Linked DNA regions of Homo sapiens: region 2 is linked to region 1. Evidence: promoter capture Hi-C in 16 types of primary human blood cells and fetal thymus (Javierre and others, 2016). All regions are on one chromosome and are shown on one strand. The core of a region is centred on a gene start or on the middle of the fragment in contact, and the rest is flanking DNA. Distances in the headings are between cores, read along the strand shown. Region 1 holds the start of ZNF551 (zinc finger protein 551). Region 2 overlaps LOC124904784 (a long non-coding RNA gene).

What was found. Contacts are between HindIII fragments. The CHiCAGO score rates a contact against its expected background, and 5 or more counts as called.
Region 2: a fragment that was not itself captured here is called in contact with the fragment with the promoter of ZNF551 in region 1 in 1 of 17 cell types (monocytes); the score reaches 5.5 in monocytes.

What each region holds. Positions count from the first base shown.
Region 1 is chr19:57,678,812-57,685,601 of GRCh38, forward strand. ZNF551 (zinc finger protein 551) reads left to right here and starts at 3,166. Exons shown (of 3, transcript NM_138347.5): 1 at 3,166-3,433; 2 at 6,451-6,574. The coding sequence starts at 3,353. ZSCAN4 (zinc finger and SCAN domain containing 4) reads left to right here. Exons shown (of 5, transcript NM_152677.4): 5 at 1-341. The coding sequence ends at 94. RefSeq lists an enhancer at 2,858-3,481 and a silencer at 3,537-3,606. The HindIII fragment of the contact is 7,295 bases long and covers 859-6,790 here.
Region 2 is chr19:58,162,763-58,169,552 of GRCh38, forward strand. The region is part of intron 1 of LOC124904784 (a long non-coding RNA gene); the gene reads left to right. Among named protein-coding and RNA genes, the nearest start is that of ZNF329, 15 kb to the left of the region's middle. The HindIII fragment of the contact is 1,212 bases long and covers 4,266-5,477 here.

The DNA.
Region 1 (6,790 bases), core at 1,916-4,415:
AAGCTACCGCCAGTCATCCACATACCACCGCCATATGAGGACTCATGAGAAAATTACCCTGCCAAGTGTTCCCTCCACACCAGAAGCTTCCTAAGCTGCTGGTCTGATAATGTGTATAAATATGTATGCAAGTATGTATATTCCTATAGTATTTATCTACTTAGGATATAAGATATAATCTCCTGATTATGCTTTCAATTTATTGTCTTGCTTCATTAAAATGTAAGGCTAAGGAGAGCATGGAATTTGTCAGTTTTGTTCACTAAAGTATTCCAAGTGGTTGGGAAAGTGGAACATTTCCAAGAACCAATAAATTTCTGTTGAATAAATGAATGAATCCATAATGTTGATATCCTTTTTTAAAAAAAGAGATGGGGCCGGCCGCAGTGGTTCGGCCTCCCAAAGTGCTGGGATTACAAGCGTGAGTGACCGTGCCCGGCTTTTTTTTTTTTTTCTGAGTCAGAGTCTTGATCTGTCGCTCAGACTGGAGTGCCGTGGTGTGATCTTGGCTCACTGCAACCTCCACTTGGAGGTCCAAAATTAATCATAGACACCAAACCACAGATCCAGAAATCTCAGAGAAGAGGAAGCAGTGTAAATACCAAAAACCTACAACTAGGTACATCATATTCAAACTACAGAAGGCCAAAGATAGAGAAATTCTTGAAAGAAGATGGAGGTGGGAGAGGGCACTTTACCTGCTGAGGAACAAGGATGAGATTTAGAGTAGAATTCTTGTCAGAAACCAGATAATCAAGAAGGGAATGGAGTGAAAGTTCAAAATTTAGTACAAAAAATAAAACCCCACCCTAACATCTATATCCAGCAATGTTATCTTTCAAAGGTGGAGGAGAATAAAGCTTTTCTCACACAAATACTAAAGAATTCATCCCCAAAGGTCCTGTTACAGGGTCCCTGCATTACATGTGAAGCAATCCAGTAGTTATTTGAAGGTCGAATTAGATTAAAGATGTTTAGGCTGGGCACAGTGTCTCATGCCTGTAATCCCAGCACTTTGTCAGGCTGAGGCGGGCAGATCACTTGAGTCCAGGAGTTTGAGACCAGCCTGAGCACCAAGGCAAAACCTCATCTGTACAAAAAATACAAAAAAACAATTAGCTAGGTTTGGCGACATGCGCCTGTAATCCCAGCTATTTGGGAGGCTGAGATGAGAGGATCACTTGAACCTGGGAGGCAGAGGTTGCAGTGAGCTGAGAACAGACCACCGCACTCCAGCCTGGGTGACAGGCTCAAAAAAATTTTAAAAAGATGTTTATTGTAACTTCTAAGGGAGGAATTAATATTTTTTTTTTTTTTTGCTGGCAACTTTGATTAATTTAAACATACAAAAATTAGCTGGGCATGGTGGTGTATGCTTGTAACCCCAGCTACTCAGGAGGCTGAGGCAGGAGAATCGCTTGAACCCGGGAGGCAGAGGTTGCAGTGAGCTGAGATCGCGCCACTGCACTCCACCCTGGGAGACAGAGCAAGACACTGTCTCAAGAACAAAAACAAAAAAGCCCAGGCGCAGTGGCTCACCTGAGGTCAGGAGTTCAAGACCAGCCTGGCCAACATGGTAAAACCCTCGCTCTACTGAAAATACAGAAATTAGCCGGGCATGGTGCTGGCGCCTGTAGTGCCAGCCACTTGGGAGGCTGAGGCAGAAGAATTGCTTGAACCTGGGAGGTGGAACTTGTGGTGAGCCAAGATCAAGCCATTGCACTCTAGCCTGGGCAACAGAGTGAGACTCCGTCTGGGAAAAAAAAAAAAAAAAAGAACTGATAAACAAATTCACCTGTGTAGCTGAATTCAAAGTCAACATGCAAAAGTCAACATGTAAAACTCATATGCCCTTCCATACACTAACAATGAAAAATCTGAAAAGGAAATTAAGAAAACAATATCATTTGCAATAGTAATGTATATGGTCAAATGATCTCAACAAGGCTACCAAGACCACTCAATGGGGAAACGATGATCTTTTCAGCAAATGATGCTGGGAAAATGAAATATTCACATGCTAAGGAATGAAGGTGAACCCTTACCTAACACCAAAAACACAAATGAACTCAAAATGGACTAAAAACCTAAACATAAGACCCAAAACTATAAAACACTTAAAAGAAAATATAGGGTGAAAGTTTTATGACATTGAATTTGGCCATAATTTCTTGGATTTGACACCAAATACACATGTGACAAAAGAAAAATAGACCAATTAGACTTCATGAAAATTAAAACTTTAGTATATCAAACAATAACAAAGTGAAAGAGGAACCTATTTAATGAGAACAAAATACAGGTTGAATATCCCTGAGCCAAAAATCTAAAATCCAAAATGCTCCAAAATCCAAATTTTTTTTTTCTTTTTTTTTTTTTGGAGACGGAGTCTCCCCCTGTCGCCCAGGCTGGAGTGCAATGGCGTGATCTCGACTCACTGCAACCTCTGCCTCCCAGGTTCAAACGATTCTCCTGCCTCAGCCTCCCAAGTACTGGGATTACAGGCGCTCGCCACCATGCCCGGCTAATTTTTGTATTTTTAGTAGAGACAGGGTTTCACCATGTTGGCCAGGCTGGTCTCGAACTCCTGATCGCGTGATCCACCCACCTTGGCCTCCCAAAGTGCTGGGATTACAGGCGTGAACCACTGCGCCCGGCCCGCCCGACTAATTTTTGTATTTTTAGTAGAGATGGGGTTCCGCCATGTTGGCCAGCCTGGTCTCGAACTTCTGACCTCAGGTGATCCGCCCGCCTCGGCCTTCTAAAGTGCTGGGATTACAGGCGTGAGCCACCGCGCCCAACCCCCTGAAATAATATTTGTTTGCCTCTAGGGGCACCCTGAGCTTCGTGGAGTCTGAAATAATGTCTCTAAACACTTAAGTGATCAGTTACGGAAAACACTTCCCAGAAATCTGGGAAAAGCCCCTTTAAGAAGGAGTAAATACCTCCTTCTCCCCTAGAGGCCGAAGTCGCCATTTCCCTGCACGGGGCACAGCACCTCAGAATACAAGTTCGCAGAGGTCAAAGCAGTGGACACACTCCGAAGAGCTCCGTGGAGTTTTGGAAACTACATTATCCAGAGTGCAGAGCGCAAAACGGCGGCGGAGTTGAGCCAATGACAGCCCAGGATAGCAACACTTCCGCGCACGCGCAGCGCGACGGGCCGGAACTTCCGGCGTCCTCCTCGTGGCGGTCATTTTGGCCTCTGTCCTGTTTGTCCAGCCCGCCAGTTTCTGCAGTGGAGGTCGCGACTGAGGGACGGGACAGAGAAGTCGCGAAAGTGGGCCAGAGGTTCTGCGACACCACCTCGGGTGAGCTGCGCCAGGCCCGGGATAGGGACTGTTGTGTTCGAATGCCCGCCCCGGTCGGCCGCCGCTCCCCGCCTAGTCCACGGAGCTCAATGGCGGCAGTCGCGCTGAGGGACTCGGCTCAGGTGAGTTGTGCGTCCTCCGGGTCTCGCCTACCTCCCCCAGCAGAAGCCTTAAGGCCCAGTGAGGGATGCCTGCTCACAGCCCTGCAGCCCAGGCCCCAGTACCCTGGACAAGAAGGCGCTTGTGGATTGGACCCGTTTGTGACGCCCAGTGTGTACGGAAATGTGACGGGCAGTTGACTGGCGCGTGCAGAACTTGGAGCTGCGACTAAGCTGGGGGGGATTCAGGAGCCTGGGGTCCGTCTCGGGTCTGCAGGAACATAGAGTGAGGCAGAGTTGCACCTGACGAATTTGACGATTCTGAGGACACTGGCAGCCTTCGAGATTTGTGAACAGATAGGGACACTGGGCTAGGATTTCCTAAAGCTATCCAAAAGTTGCTCAGGGGAAGAACAGGCTGAAGAGAGGTAATAGTAGTTAGGCATAGGAAGACTGAGTTCTTGTCCAAGCTCACGCAGCTGGTAAAGTCAGCACTGAGAACTGAGGTGCGGAGATAGTGCAGCCAGCCCAGGCCACCTGGCTCCAAAACTGGACCAGGGTCATTGGGCGACCTGAGCCTCGCCACTCGTCTAGCCTTGGGCCCTGAGACTTTGAGCAAATACAAAGCCCAGAGTCTTAAGTCCAGGTTAGATTATATGAAGCTGTTGGCAGCCGGGGGAAAGGAGATGTAGAAGGTTGTCCAAGGCAAAGTTACCAGTATATGCTAAGTTTGGAGAGGAGGCTAAGATAGTTCAGGAACCTACAATTATTTTCTTTTCATGAGAACAGGGAGCAGTGTAGTAGAAGTCAGACCCGGAATGGTTCCCTGAGAAGTTGAGTTGTCTATTCGTTACTTAATAGTAACAGTGGGAGGTTTGGAGTGGAAGAGGGAGGTGATCTGGTTCTGGTCTTATTAGGCTCCCTGTGGCTGCAGCATGGGAAGCCAACTGAAGGATGAGGTGGGGAGACCTGGGAGGAGACTACTGGGATAGGCCAGGTGAATGTGATAGAATGTGATAGGCCAAAATGGTGGCTGTGAAGATGCGAGAAGCAGTTGGATTCTGGATTCATTTTTTAAGTAGGGCTGCCTGAATTTTTAGTTTTGAGAAAGAGAGTGGAGTCAGGGATGACTGAAAGGTTTTATTTTGGCAGTTAGAAGTGTGGAAGCTCCATCAACTAAGATGGGGAAGTACATAGTAGGAGTAGTTTTCATTTGGGATATCAGAAGTTTTATTTTTGACCTGCTAAGAGTATGAGAGCTTTCAGAGAATGGTTCATGGGCTGCTGGAACTGTAGGTCAGGAACAGTGAGGAGAGATTCAGAATGGAGACTTTTCCAAAAGGTAGTGGACAATCTGTGGGCCGGGGTGGAGCTGTGGATCACATTTAGTAGAGGGGAAGCCTGCTCACAATGATAATAATAGTTGTCAAGGAAGGGGAGGGGAAGGTCAAGGACAGGTCTCCTGTGTGAGCCCCTGGTTGTGTGAGGTGTTGCAACACAGGTCTTGGACAGAAGTGTTCACGGTGAGGGTCGTACAGAGATTATGATCTAGCATGTGGCCAAGGCTTCTCAGGGGTGAGTAGACATGAGATGAATGTAGAGGCATAGGAGTTAGACAGGATGATGCTAGGACTGGTGCGTATTCACCTCTCTGCAGACTGACCAGGGTTTTATATTAACTCTTGGTGGGATCTGGGAAGTTTCAGTCAGGCTGTCACGTTATCTTAGGGGCATAATTGGCCATCTGTGGGACTCGATGGGCCCGGGGTAGAGAGCCACTGGGGTTGGACCTTGAATTAGTGGTAGTTGGAGAGAGGAAGGCTGTGACTGGTTGGGGGACAGCAATCACAGCCCAGAAGTGGAAGAGGCCTTGGTTATCTGAGATCCACAGGTGATTCTTGATGGGTGAGGTTGAAGCAAGGAATAGTCAGGTAGAAAGGCCTTCATGGTATGACTTGAGGCTGCCCCTAACTTTAGGTGCAGTTAGAGATCTGGGATAGTACTGAACCGTATTTGAATTTGCCAGCCACTCTCTGGGCCCCATATGCTGAGTAACCAGTTGGGAGGCCAAGGAGATGCTCATGGTATGAGGCAGGAAGTAAGCTGTGGCTGTGGGAGTGACACTGTGAGAGAAGTGTGGTAGAGTATTGTGCACATGGAGACAAGAATGTGAAGTGGTGGCTCCTTGGTGTTGAGGACACAAGGGTGAAGTATGAACCAAGACCCTTGGTTGTGTTTGGGAGCCATGGTCTGTTGTCTTCCAGGAGAGTTTCCTTACAAGAGAGTATGGTTCCTTGCATGGCAGGCTCAGAGCTTAGATACTTGCCCACCTGCCTGTTGTTGCTGTGGGAGAACACAATGACCAATGGGACCATAAGGAGAGAGGGGGCATTAGTGTCACCAGGCCCTGTTGCATTCTTTCAAATGAGAAGATGGAGAGGAGGATGAACAGGGGATAGATGCAGCAGGGATGAATTTGGGGTCCTAGGAGAGATACTCATAATGGAATGAACTGTCCCAATCATGGAAAAGCTGTGTGACCTTTGAGGTTGTGGCTGTGGGAATGCAGCTGTGTGAGACAGGTGTGGTTCAAAGAGTGATGTACATGAGAAGAGAGAGAATAAACTGAGGGCCATATGGGTGAACGGGAGTCAGAGGGGTAAAGGGTAAGCCCGTGTTAGTTGTGTCTTGGAAGATCAATCTTGGGGACTTCACGGGTATTGCCTGACAAGACAAACGTCAGATCACTCACACCCTGTCTATGGCCAGTTCTCTCTCTAGCTGGTGTTTGTGAGTAACGAGAGGTATAGCCTACCTGCCATGCCCAGAGCTTAGATAGCATCTATCTGTTCATAGGCCTGTTGTTGCTATTCGAGGACTCAGTATCAGTGGAACTGTGGGGAGAGGGTAGGCATCGGTGGCACTGTGGCTGGTTATCTCCGCTGAGGTGGGCAATAGGGTGACCTGGGGATGGATGTTGGGGGCAAGAGGATAATGAACTCCGGGTCTGATCGTGGATTGAACTATTCCTGCTGTGACAGGGTATGACCTTTGAGGATGTGGCCATTTATTTCTCCCAAGAAGAGTGGGAGCTCCTTGATGAGTCTCAGAGGTTCCTGTACTGCGATGTGATGCTGGAGAACTTTGCACATGTAACATCCCTGGGTAAGGCCCTAGCATCCCTCCGAGTGTCTGCTTTTCTTTTTGACCCCAGAGTTACCTCTGTCTCAGGAGTCTTGCTGTCAGCCTAGTGGATCTTATTTTTCTTGTCTTCCCCCTGTCAGGATGACTGTGTACAGATTCATGGTACCTTGTGGCCCAGTTTCTGCCCTTTTCCTCTAGCTGCCATTTCCTTATGTCCACCTATATCAGAAATTACAG
Region 2 (6,790 bases), core at 3,622-6,121, 490 kb after region 1:
TGGAGTTAACCTCGGGAGTGACATGATCTAATTTGCACCATTAGAAGGGCACTGCCTGATGTGTGGGGGAAGATCTCCAGCAGGCATTTAGTCACAGGCTTTGGAAATTCAGAAGCTGAGGGTTAGTGATCTCGACTTGGAAGTCATCAACATAACAGTCGAATGGTGAGGGATACAAGTCACCTCAAACAATTGGCCAAGAAACAGTCACGGTGATGCCATGCTAGGTACTGTTGCCAAGGAAATTAGCAAACAGATTTGGAATCTGCCTTTATGTAGCAATCAGCATAGTGAATGTGGATGTTCTACAAAAAAGCATAAATATTTGAGAGCAATGAGAAGTCACTCGTTGAATTTAAGCAAGAGAATTAAATGATCTAGTTTACATTTTAAGAGAGACAGGGTCGGGAGAGGGGGGAGGGATAGCATTAGGAGATATACCTAATGTTAAATGACAAGTTAATGGGTGCAGCACACCAACGTGGCACATGTGTACATATGTAACTAACCTGCACGTTGTGCACATGTACCCTAAAACTTAAAGTATATATAAATAAAAATAATAAAAAAAATAAATAAATAAATAAAAGAGACAGGGTCTTGCTGTGTCACCCAGGCTGGTGTGCAGTGGTGCAATCATAGCTTGCTGCAACCTTGGAATCCTGGGCTCAAGAAATCCCCCCACCTCAGCCTTCCAAGTAGCCGAAATCATAAGTGCACACCACCACACCCGGCTAATTAAAAAAAAACTTTTTTTGTAGAGACGGGGGTCTCACTGTGTTGTCCAGGCTGGTCTCGAACTTCTGAACTCAAGTGATCTTCCTGCCTTGGCCTCCCAAAGTGCTGGTATTACAAGGGTGAGCCACCACACCTGGCCTGATTTCCATGTTTGAACGGTTGCACTGGTTGAGTGTTGGGATGGTGTCATGAACAGAAGAGGAGATGATGATGAAAGCACTACTGTGTAGTTCAGTCAAGAAGTGTCATGACTTGGAACCGGATGAGTCAATGGAAGTAAAAAGGGGATCATTTCAATGTATGTTTAAGGTGGGCTCAGAATTTGGTGATTGATTCAAAATGGAAGTGGAAGGGTCCATGGCTACTGGCATGAGCAACTGTGATGCAATCCATGGACAGGAGAAACCTGGGAGAAGAGGAGGTAGAGCATGAGAGTAGAACTCAGTACTGACAAGGTATGGTTGTAAAATGAATAGACACTCCCAGCAGGCAGTATGAATATGGTGAAATATGTCCATGCTCAGAAAAGAATCTGGAATGAAGCTACAAATTGTGATTCATCAATGTTCAGATGGTGTTTGAAGCCAGCAGAATAAAACAGACCATACTGGTGGATGAGAGAAGAGGGCTCAGGACAAGCCCCCAAAGCACTGGGGTCCAGAAGAGCATCTTGAAAACAGCGTGAGGAGACTGGGCGCGGTGGCTCACGCCTGTAATCCCAGCACTTTGGGACGCTGAGGCTGGTGGATCACGAGGTTGGGAGATCGAGACCATCCTGGCTAACATGGTGAAATCCCGTCTCTACTAAAAATACAAAAAATTAGCTGGGCATGGTGGCGGGCGCCTGTAGTCCCAGCTACTCAGGAGGCTGAGGCAGGAGAATGGCGTGAACCCAGGAGGCAGAGCTTGCAGTGAGCCAAGATCGTGCCACTGCACTCCAGCCTGGGCGACAGAGCGAGACTCCGTCTCAAAAGAAAAAAAAAAAAAAAGAAAGAAAGAAAAAGAAAAGAGAGTGAGAAATGACTACTAGCAGAGATTGATCTATTTTCCTATCAGCCACCTGGAGAGACTGGGCTTATTCTTATTTGCTCAGTCGCTCCTGGCAAGACAGATTTGGAAACAAATCAACATGCTTTCGATGTGCTTAATACCAGCATTTTCTCTCCAGCTCTTAAAATTATGGTTTTTTAATTGATTGAACAAGCCATAATTTATTCAGTGAACAACTGTAGGGGATGTACAAATGTATCTGGTTTTTTTTTTTTTTTGGATTGTGAAACTATCATCAAAAGCAAAGAGATAACCAGGAAGGAAGACATTTGTCTGAAAACCATATGCCAGGCCAGGCGTGGTGGCTCATGCCTGAAATCCGAGCACTTTGGGAGACTGAGGTGGGTGGATCACAAGGTCAGGAGTTTGAGACCAGCTTGGCCAACACGGTGAAACCCCGTCTCTACTAAAAAAAAAATACAAAAATTGGCTGGGCATGGTGGCGTGTACCTGTAATCCCAGCTACCTGGGAGGCTAAGGCAGGAGAATTGTTTGAACCCAGGAGGCAGAGGTTGCAGTAAGCCGAGACTGCGCCACTGCCCTCCAGCCTGGGTGACAGAGGACGACTCCGTCTCAAAACAAAACAAAACAAAATAAAAACAACAACAACAAAAATGCCATCCTGAAAGTGGAAAGATTCACAAAGAATGAGCTTCATTTCTTCACATTTGGAAGAAACCAGGACTGTAAGGTCCACTTAGAGAAGCAGAAGGAGGACCAGGAGAGATGAGTCAAACAAATGATGCTTGAGGAACACTGATTCAGGAATGAGGTTGCAAGAATAAGAAATGCACAGCTAATGTTAAGTAGAATTCAAGCCTTCTTCCACTAAACAATATTCTTTTTTGTTTTGTTTTGTTTTGTTTTTGAGACAGAGTCTTGCTCTGTCACCCAGGCTGGAGTGCAGTGGCAGGATCTCAGGTCACTGCGAGCTCTGCCTCCCGGGTTCATGCCATTCTCCTGCCTCAGCTTCCAGAGTAGCTGGGACTACAAGCGCGCGCCACCACACCCAGCTAATTTTTTGTATTTTTAGTAGAGACGGGGTTTCACCGTGTTAGTCAGGATGGTCTCGATCTCCTGACCTCATGATCCACCCTCCTTGGCCTCCCAAAGTGCTGCCATTACAGGCATGAGCCACCGCGCCTGGCCTTGTTTTTGTTTTTTGAGACAGAGTCTCATTCTGTCACCCAGGCTGGAGTGCAATGGCATGATCTTGGCTCACTGCGACCTTCACCTCCTGGGTTCAAGCAATTCTCTGCCTCGGCCTCTCAAGTAGCTGGGATTCAGGCACCCGCCACCACACCTGGCTAATTTTTGTATTTTTAGTAGAGACAGGGGTGTCGCCATCTTGGCCAGGCTGGTCTTGAACTCCTGACCTTGTGATCCACCCACGTTGGCCTCTCAAAATGTTGGGACTACAGGCGTGAGCCACCGTGCCTGGCCCACTAAACAATATTCTTATCAATGAATACCACTACATACATGACTCATTGTAAAACAACATTCAGATTTAATAAACCATAAATGCACAGGGAAAAACCCCTGAAAATTATGATTTTGGGAATGCTTTTGGTCAAAACACTCAACTTCTTAGACTTGCAAACAGTTCAGTGTAGAAAAGCCTTATATATGAAATATACGTAGTAAATTTTTTAAGTGTAGCACAAGTCTCAGTCAATGTAAGCGAATTCATGTTAGAGAGAGTTGAGTTGAATGTAAGGAATGTGGAAAAGTGTATTCAGAGCTCCTCTCATCTTTGTTTTGAGAGCACTCACACAGTTGACAAACCCTCCAGATGTTCTGAATGTGAGAAATCCCTGTTTATGGTAAATACTTTCTGACATCAGAGAAGTCATACTGGAGAGAGACCATATAAATGTAGTATGTGTAAAGAAGTCTTTAAACAGAGCTCAACCCCACTGATGTATGAGCAAACTCTCTCAGGAAATAGACCTTACAAATGTGTTGAGTGTTGGAGAGTCTTTATTAAGAAATATTTCTTTCAGTATGTTTCAGAACTTATACAGGAGAACAATACTATAAATGTAATCGCTGTAGCAAAGGCTGTAGACACAAATTATACCTTATTCAATATGAGACAATTTATACTTGTGGGAAATTATATATTTGCAGTGAATTTAGGAAATTCTTCTAAAGAAGTGAACACTTTTACCCTATAGCTAAGAATCTATAGAGACACCTTATGAAGGGAATCATTCAGGGAAAGGTTTTACACTTTGCTCCTCCACTACTCAAAAATCACAGAAGACACACTGGAGAGCAAAGTGATGGATACAGTCATCGTGGGAAAGGCTTCAGACGTAGCCTAGCCCTTATGATGTGACATCAGAGGACTCATACTGAGGAAAACCCCATACATGTAATTTGCGTGGAAGAGCATTCAGGAGTTGTTCTCATATTATTGAACGTAAGAGGACTCATACTGGAGAACACTATGAATGCAGTCAGTATTGGCAAGCTTTCAACCATGGCTTTTACCTTATTTGACACCAGGAAATTCAAACAAATTAGAAAAACTCATTGAAAAAAGATCAATGTGGAAAAGCTATTGGTTGGAATTCCATTTTATTTGACATCAGGGATAAAGGAGGCAAAAGCCACCAGTTATTTTTTAACTCTTAAGTATCTGAATGTAACAAGACTGCAAACTTGTGACTCCCTGCAGCCACAGATCAGCAGGGATAAGCAGTTCTATTCTACATATGTCCCTAATTTGCCATAGAAACACCATTTAATGGGGACTCAGGGTCTAGGCCTGATGAACAATGTCTCATAGAAATGTCTGGCCATATGCGGCTGGGCACAGTGGCTCACGCCTGTAATCCCAGCACTTTGGGAGTCCGAGGCGGGTGGATCACGAGGTCAGGAGATCAAGACCATCCTGGCTAGCACCGTGAAACCCCGTCTCTACTAAAAATACAAAAAAAAAAAATTAGCTGGGTGTGGTGGTGGGCGCCTGGAGTCCCAGCTACTCAGGAGGCTGAGGCAGGAGAATGGTGTGAACCCAGGAGGCAGAGCTTGCTGTAAGCCGAGATCGTGCCACTGCACTCCAGCCTGGGTGACAGAGCAAGACTCCGTCTCAAAAAAAACAAGAAAAAAAGAAAAAGAAAAAGAAATGTCTCCCATATGCCTGTAATCCCAGCTACACAGGAGGCTGAGGCAGGAGAATAGCTGAACCCAGGAGGTGGAGGTTGCAGTGAACCAAGATCACACCACTGCCCTCCAGCCCGGGCAACAGAGCAAAACTCCATCTCAAAAAAAAAAAAAAAAATGGTTGCCATAGATAATCATGGCTGGGCACAGAGGCTCACACCTGTAATCCCAGCACTTTTGGAGGGCAAGGCAGGTGGATCACTTGAGCTCAGGAGTCCAAGACCAGCCTGTGCAACATGGAGAAACCCCGTCTCTAATAAAAATACAAAAATTAGCTGTGCGTGGTGGTGCATTCCTGTAGTCCCAGCTACTTGGGAAGTGAGGACTGCTTGAGGGGGTCAAGGCTACAGTGAGCTGAGATGGTACCACTGCACTCCAGCCTGGGTGACTAAACGAGACCCTGTCTAAAAGAAAAGAAAAGAAGAGAAATGGTTGTCATAGGTAATCACATGTAAATTTTTTTTTTTTTAAAGAGTGAGCAACAGTAAGATTTATTGCAAAGAGCGAAAGAACAAAGCTTCCACAGTGTGGAAGGGGACCCAAGCGGGTTGCCCATAAATGTTATCAGTGGCAACAGCGTATCTGTTTTTCTACATCACGTATGAATAAAAGAACCGTCAACCTTGAAGAATGGTGCAGGAATCATATGGCAACAGCGTATCTATTTTTCTACATCACGTATGAATAAAAGAACCGTCAACCTTGAAGAATGGTGCAGGAATCATACACCTTTTAGCATCATGGGGATCCTTATGTGTATAATTTTATGATAGTCCTAGATGAGGGCTGAAGGATATGCTATCAATTTTTTTCTGCATAATCCAAATATTATCACTCCAAACAAATCAGAGAGCTTTATACTAACTTGCTAATACTTTGCCAATAGCATTCTTCTATCTACTTGAATAGAAGCATCATAAAGAGTTGTATGTTGGCCAGGCACGGTGACTCACACCTGTAATCCCAGCATTTTGGGAGGCCGAGGCAGGAGGATCACCTGAGGTCAGGAGTTTGAGACAAGCCTGGCCAACATGGTGAAACCCTGTCTCTAGTAAAAATAGAAAAATTAGCTGAGTGTGGTGGCACATGCCTGTAATCCCAGCTACTTGGGAGGCTAAGGCAGGAGAATCAGTTGATCCCGGGAGGTAGAGGTTGCAGTGAGCCAAGGTTGTGCCATTGCACTCCAGCCTGGGTGACAAGAGCAAAACTCCATCTCAAAAAAATAAAAAAAATGAGTTGTACGTATCTTCACATTTCTAAGGGCATGTCCAATGTCTTGGCAGGGTTAAAAAGACATCATAGTCTGGTGAAGTACCCATACTCCAAAACTAGTGCAAACTTCACAAGTTTCATTGCAAATCCCTTACAAAGAGCACAGGGTATGTATAAGCAGCATTGGTTTCTCTTCTGAAACCCTGGACACTAGAAGATAAGTGAAGATTCCAGAAACACAAAGACTCTGATTTCAGGATTTGATGCTCAGCAAATATATCATTCACACATATGAGGAGAGAGTAAGCATTTTCAGACCTGTTAGCATTCAAAATTTGTATTCTTTCTGGAAAAACTGCCCAAGAGAACATAATAGTAATTTCTTACAATGGAAGTATGAGCCATGTCCCCAAAAGACATCTAAAAGGACACTCATAGAAGCATTAGTCATAAGGGGCCAAAACTGGATACAGCCCAGCAGTCCATCAATAATAAAATGTATAAACAAAATGTGGTACATCCATAGTGGAATACTACTCAGCAATTTACCAAACATTAACTACTGATACATGCAGCAACTTGGATGAATCTCTAACACATTATGTTGACACAGAAA